Linked DNA regions of Homo sapiens: region 1 is linked to region 2. The links are contacts of gene promoters, found by promoter capture Hi-C in human tissues and cell types (Jung and others, 2019). All regions are on one chromosome and are shown on one strand. Each heading gives the region's core, a stretch centred on a gene start or on the middle of the fragment in contact. The rest is flanking DNA. Distances are from core to core; before and after follow the strand shown. Region 1 overlaps SEPTIN8 (septin 8). Region 2 holds the start of SOWAHA (sosondowah ankyrin repeat domain family member A).

Evidence for each region. The method cuts DNA at HindIII sites, captures the fragments that hold promoters and counts their contacts. A contact is called where the count stands out against the background at its distance.
Region 1: a fragment that was not itself captured here is called in contact with the fragment with the promoter of SOWAHA in region 2 in 2 of the 25 tissues and cell types used here (dorsolateral prefrontal cortex and hippocampus).

The regions. Positions count from the first base shown.
Region 1 is chr5:132,769,731-132,773,165 of GRCh38, reverse strand. All of the region lies in intron 1 of SEPTIN8 (septin 8), which reads left to right. Among named protein-coding and RNA genes, the nearest start is that of SEPTIN8, 5.8 kb to the left of the region's middle. The HindIII fragment of the contact is 3,532 bases long and covers 405-3,435 here.
Region 2 is chr5:132,811,259-132,814,877 of GRCh38, reverse strand. SOWAHA (sosondowah ankyrin repeat domain family member A) reads right to left here and starts at 1,576. Exons shown (of 1, transcript NM_175873.6): 1 at 1-1,576. The coding sequence starts at 1,256. RefSeq lists an enhancer at 1-432 and a silencer at 472-541. The HindIII fragment of the contact is 8,247 bases long and covers 1-3,619 here.

The DNA of each region.
Region 1 (3,435 bases), core at 921-3,420, 42 kb after region 2:
TGTGGTAGAGCTGGGGCACTCTGTTGGCTTCTTTTGGAGCCATCTGAACCTTCAGAGCTCCTGAAAGAACTGGCTGGGAAGAGGCAGCGGAGGACGGGGCAGGGGGCATCTTGGCTCTGCGTGCAGTTGCCCTACATGTTCTTGGGGCAAATTAGATATTCTCCTCAGGATACACGGCTTTCAGGTGTTCCCTATCCTAGAGGTCAGATTAGAGGGACAGAACCAGCAGAGGAAGGTACAGGGGCCCATGTCTGCTGGCAGGTGGCTGGCTGTTTTCTGAGGGGGCTCCAGGGCTTGGGCTGCCTGATGCTTGGGGTTCAGGAGGGGCTGTGGGTATGGACCCAAGCCCACTTGCCAGACATGGCTCTTGGGCCTGGGTACAAACCTGACATTCTGCCTGGTGTTGGAGTGAATGGACAAGCAGCAGAGAAGTATAGCAGTGCCACCCCCATACCTCTGCCAACCCGTATTGGTGCCCATGCATTCCTCCGTCCCTTTCCAGCACTGGCATCCATCGTGGGGTTGGACAGAAGGCGGGGCACCTTTGCTGCCCACATTCTCCCTCCAAGGGTTTCATTTGCTGTGAAACAGAGGCTGCCTTCTCCTGCCAGTGATACCCAGACCACTCGTGGCTTTCCCTGTTACAAGGCAGTGGTGGCTGCCACTGGAGTCCCTGAGCTAAGTAAGAAAATATGAATGCCTGGAGTTCTAGTACATTCTGCAGCCCAGAGCACCTTCCCCATCTCCTCTGTGGTGGGATAGACCACTCCCTCTCAGGCAGCACAATAAAGGCCAAGAATGTGTCTGTCCTAGGCCTGGGGGTTGGGGTGGCGAGTACTGGCCCAGCTACCAGTAACTGTGCTCTTAGCTTCCTGGAAATCTGATTTTGATGGGAAAAGCTTGAAACACACTATCCCAAATTAATAAGCTCCAGCCTGGCTGGCTGTGTGCAGAAAGGAAAGACAGTGCCTCTTAGTGAGACAGAGAAACAGAGAGAATGGAGTATTGGGGTCAGGGGATGGTTTTGCTCCCAAAATTCCTTCTCTTCCCAGGATGGGTGGAGTAGGACTGGCCTTGTGAGGATGATTGGCTTCCTGTTACCTTGACTGCCGTCATGTTGGGACCATGGCGGGTGATCCTTGCTTGAATCTTCTCTCAAGTTTTCTGTTGCCACTGTAGGAGAAAGATGCTTTGGCTCCCAGGTGTCCTCTTGATTTGGGACAGGTATATCCTGCCTCTATTCTTCCTTCCTGGCCCCGGGTAGCAGCATCCCACCCCCACCCTCCCACGTATGTCTCCTTGGTTATTTCCCGTAACCTCTGACCTGGGCTTAGAGGCTTGCTGTGGAATCCTGGGACCAGAGCCGAAGCCTTTCCTGGGAAAATTCCTAGGATTCCTCTCAGGCTCAAGGACAGTTGTGCTTATGACCGCGACCACGGGTTCTGGCTAGAGGCCTCTGCTCTGGCTATTTAAGGCCCAGGCTCCTGGGAGGAGCTGGAGCCGGGGCTAGCATAGTTTGTGCCAGGAACATGGGTGGAGAAAGCTTCCAGTGGTCCATTGACTCCTGAGTCCATTGCTCAGTTACTTAATAGGGCCACCCCCAGGGCTGGAGCTCCCCTGGGGAGTGGGCTTCCTGTCTGCCTGACTGGGTGTACAGGTGAGTGGGTGCTAGGCATGGGAGCCCAGAGGAAGAAAAGCATCCAAAGTCCAAGGCACTGGAGAACTCTGGAAGGCCTGAGGTCTGGGGGCTGCTCTTTGTCCATTACTCGGTAGCCAATCCACCTATGGTGGGGTATCCTTTCTACTCCCACTGCAACAACCAGCCTAGTTTGGGGGTTTGGATCACAGGGGTCTTTATTTACCCACAGCTTCCCCGGCTCTGTTGGTTTAGAGATTCAGTAGATTTCCAGTTCCTTCTGGATAAAAACCTGTTTTTGTGTGTTGGCAACCATGAGATGCAGTTTCTTCCCAGATCCCACCTTGTTTCATGGTAAAAGGGACAGCTCCTCTTGGCTGGTGATGAGGGCTGCTCTAGGAGGCTCAGACAGAGCATTTCCTATCAGGAAAAGGGCGTCCTAGTTATCCACTGGGCTGCGTAACAAAATGCTGTTCTCTACTTTGTCTTGGACGGCCGGGCATGGAGGCACGCAGCCGGCCTGAGAAGTTATTGTTTTGGTTGTTGTCTTTGATGTGCCAAAGAAATGATGACACAGAAGCCTGGGGCCTGGCTCAGGAGCCAAAAGCTTGTTAGTGATTAGAGAGGGGATAATGGCCCCATGGAGTTTCTCATTGCATATGTAGAGCTCAGAGCTGCCAACTCCCTCTATCCTGGGACTTTGAAGACATATACAACGCTCACCCCTGTGTGAGCACCTCAGGGAGCTGGGTGTGTGGAATGAGCCAGAGGCTTTGGGTCCACCTCTCTCTGGGGTCCAAGTTAAGTTGTCCTGCCTGAAGGCTCCTCCCCACAGAGCAGTCTGCCATGGGGCTTCCTGACTTGAGAATGGAGCCTGGCTGCAGGGTCCGTCCAGCTCACCCTCCCACCAGAGCCAGCTTACAGACCAGCAGGCCTTTGGCCCACACCAGCCCCCTGACATGTTGTATTGGGCCCTCATGGTATTCTCAGTTTGTATTGGTTGTCAATCTTTAAAAATTACAGAATTTCACATAAAAATATAGATTTCTGGGCCAGGCATGGTGGCTCACACCTGTAATCCCAGCACTTTGGGAGGCCAACGCAGGTGGATCACCTGAGGTCAGGAGTTCAAGACCGACCTGGCCAACATAGTGAAACCCCGTCTCTACTAAAAATACAAAAATCAGCCAGGCGTGGTGGTTGCGTGCCTGTAATCCCAGCTACTGGGGAGTCTGAGGCATGAGAATTGCTTGTACCTAGGAGGCGGAGGTTACAGTGAGCTGAGATCACACCACTCCAGCCTGGGTGACAGAGCCAGACTGTGTCTCAAAAAATACATACATACATATATATACATATATACATATATATATATATATATATACACACACATACACATATATACATATATATATATATACATATATACATATATATATACATATATACATATATATATATATATACACACACACACACACACACACATATATATATATGTGTGTGTATATATATATATATATATATATATATATATATATATATATGTATATATAGAGAGAGATTTTTGGGTTCTCTTTAAAAACGGGAAGATTTGGCAACACTAGATCTGTGTTCCCACAGTTGGCTGGCGTTGTGGAACTGTGGCCACCATGGATTGAGCATAAGCACAGGCTCTCCAGTTCTCTGCCATTCCCACCTCTCCCCGGGAACCCCCACGCTTGGCCAAGTTAGTGGCTGTCTTTCATCCAGCAGGCGGGGAGTGATGTGACTAGAAGTGTGGGTTTCACAGTCATGTT
Region 2 (3,619 bases), core at 327-2,826:
CCGCTGTGATCACGCACGTGCACCTGGGCACCCAGACGCACCACCAGCAGCACGGCAGCGTCCTCGTGGCCGTGCAGTGCAGCCAGGTGCAGCGGCGTGTAGCCGCCGTGGGAGCGTGCGTTCACGTCGACTGGTGCGCCACTGCGCCGCGCGACCTCCACCAGCTGCAGCGCCATCTCGCCGTCGCCGCTCTTGGCGGCCCAATGCAGGGCCGTGAAGCCAGACATGAAGTCGCGCTTGGCCGCCAAGCCGCGGTCGCGCAGCAGCAGCCCGTGCAGCTGGTGGGTCCAGCGGCCCCCGGCAGTCCGCACGAGCCACTCGTGCTCGGACGGCTCCAGGGGCACCGCGGACGGCGGCGGCGCGGCGGGCAACTCCTCGGCGTCAGGGCTCAGCAGACGCGGGCCGGCGCGCGACAGGCGCCTCAGGTGCGGGGAGCGGCCCGGGCCCAGGCCGAGGCCCAGACCGGACTCTTCCACCGAGAGCCGCCTCAGCAGCAGAGGGGAGCTCCGCGGGCTCGGCTCCTCCGACAGCTGCCGGCGCAGGCCGGGCTCCTCCGCCCGGAGGCGGAGCGTGGCGGGGGCCGGGACGCAGCGCACCGGCAGCATACAGGGCTTCTGCTGCGGCGGCCCTTTCGCTGCCCCGGGCCCGGGCTCCGCGTCTGGCGGATCAGAGCAGGGCGATGCCGCCTCAGAAGGGGCCCTAGGCGGTGGGGCCGCGTCTGCGGAGGGTCTCTCGGTGGCCTGGGCTAGCTCAAGGGCTGGAAGCGGTGGGTCGGCGGACCGCTCCCCGGGCGGCTGAGCGGGCTCGGAGGCCGGCCCCCCCGGGGTGTCCTGTGGCTCTGTTGGCAGACCCAGGTCCCCTGGCGGCTCCACTGGCCGCGGCACCCGGACCAAGGGCGGAGCTCCCGGGGCAGAGGCGCTCCGCGGCAAGACCGTCGAAGTGGGTTTCGACGGCTGGGCCGCTGCCCCCGGGGGGCCGAAGGGTGCGGGCTCGGGCTCCGGGGGCCGGGGCTTCTTCCTCAGCACCACGAACTTGACGCCGTCGAGCTCCTTCACCACCGCCACGTTGTTGACGAACTGCTTGAAGCGGTCCCTGCGGGCGGCGCGGCCCCGCGGGTCGCCGGCATCGAGCAGCGGCTTGAAGCGGCTCAGCAGCTCGGAGTTGCGCACCTTCCCGCCGTGCTCCTGCAGGAAGCCCAGCACCGCCGCCTGGCTCACCCCGGCAGCCGCAGCGGCGGCGGCGGCGGCCAGCGCCATGGTGGGGCCCTGGGTTCCTGGCTCCCGGGGCGGGTGGGCGCCGCGTCGCCGCGGGACGCGCGGGAGCGGGGTTCCGGGAGGCGCGGCCGCGCTCACCTGGTGCCTTCCCCGCGGCCAGCCGGGCGTGTCCCCGAAGCTGGACCTCGGTCGCGCCAGTGCCGCTGGGCCGGGGCGTCTCGGGGCGAAGGGCGCCGGGGGCCGCGGGGAGCGCCCACCCCCAGCGCCCCGCCGGGCCCCGGCCTTCGGGGTAGGTTTCTGCCTTTGTATTCTGTCCAATGGGCGCCTGCTTCCATCCCCCGCGCCGCGCTCGCCTTACAGGTGACAGCTGCCCCCGCGATGCAGAGGGAACCGGAGCAGAAATTCCCGCCGCCCCCCGCCCGCCCCAGAATTAAAGGCGCAGCGCTCCAGCTCTGGTCTCGGTTGCTAGGTGGGTGTGTTCCCTAGGGACGCCGCGGTCCGCCAAGGAGGAATGGATTTTTATTCCTTTAATAAACATTTAACCACTGCAAAACACCAAGCGATGATTTCAGAACAATCTTTTTTTTTTAAAGGTCGTCAATACCACTCCAGTTTTTTTTTTTTTTTACTGTGTTTCATGCAGGAAAACGGCTTCATGAGATTTACAGCAAAACCAATTCACTCTGCGCGGCAATGCACGTTACTCTAGGTTTAGAGAGACGTTTTCAAAAGCAATTTTCTCATGGTAAGAGAATACATTTTCACGTAGAATTTGGGGTATAAAACCACAGGAAACATAAACATAACAGGAAAACATAGAGGAAAACATAAAGAAGGAAAAAAAATCACTTGAAATCACCATTAACATTTTGAAATATCCTCTCCCTGTCTCCCATGTGTGTATGTATGTTTATGCTTTAAAGTAAGAAAGCAATGCGGAGTCATGCCATGGTTTTAAACCTTCGTTTGTTCCACAGATAGGTATTGAGCACGTAGTTTGTGCCAGGACTTTTTTTTTTTTTTTTTTGGCTAAGATGCGTCAGTTAGCAAGACAGATTTAAAAACCCGTGACCTAGTGGGGCTCATGTGTTGGAGGAGAACAGAAGCATATGGTGAATCCGAAAACTATATGATATACTAAATACATGCTATGAAAAAAGCACAGCGGGGTATAACGGATGAGGGTCAGGTTGCAATTTTGATCTGGGCAGTCAGGATAGTACTCGTTGTGAAAGTGACATTTAAACAAGGACTTGAAGGAGATCAGGGAGTTATGTAGACGGGGAAGAGGTTTCTAGTTGAGGGAACTGCCTGGCAGAGGTAGAATCAGTTCCTTAATTTAAAATGCAGGCCGGGCGCGATGGCTCACGCCTCTAATCCCAGCACTTTGGGAGGCTGACTTGGGCGGATGATCTGAGGTCAGGAGTTCGAGACCAGCCTGGCCATCATGGTGAAATCCATCTCTACTTAAAAATACAAAAATTAGCTGGGTGTGATGGCACGCACCTGTAATCCCAGCTACTCCGGAGGCTGAGGCAGGTGAATCGCTTGAACCCGGGAGGTGGAGGTTGCAGTGAGCTGAGATGGCGCCACTGCACTCCAGCCTGGATGACAAGAGCAAGCCCTGTCTCATAAATAAATAAATAATTGCAGTACTACAAATATATCTAACCAGAAGCAGCATATTGTAGTAGCTGAGAAAACAAGACTCTGGAGTCAACATTCTACACTTGAGTTCTGGCTCTACCTTGGGCAAATGCCTTGACTTCTCTGTGCCTCAGCTTTCTTGTCTGTAAAGGAATGAGGAAAATAGTACTTACCTGCTCAGATGGTTGAGAGAATTAAGTGAGAAAATAAACACAAAAGACTTAGCATAATGCTTGGCTTACAGTAATCATTTGAATTATTATTAGTAGTATAGTCACTACTATTAGTATTACTCAAAAGGAAAACAGAAGACTAAAATGTAAAGGGTCCCCTTTCCCCAATCCAATCCCCAGGGGCAATTTCTGAGTTCAGCCCTGTCCCCAAGATGCAAACAATTTAAACATTTCCCCCTCACTTTATATTGTGAGCATTCCTCCCAATGACAATAGCTAGTCTAGTCTTCAAAAACATACAACTTTTAATGATAGCATCAAATAAATGTAGTATTATACTTTGTTTTCTTGTTCTTCATTGTTTATATTGTTTCTAGTTTTTAATTCTTATAAATGATGCTGTTGATATATAAGACTTTGTGCACCTTTCTGAGTAATTCCTTAGGATAGGCTCCTAGGAGTAGAATTCGCAGGGCACGCACCATCACACGCAACAGCATCACACCCAGCTAATTTTATTTTTATATTGCCCAAGCTTGTCTCAAACCCTTGGCCTCAAGCGAGCCTTCCACCTCAGCCTCCAAA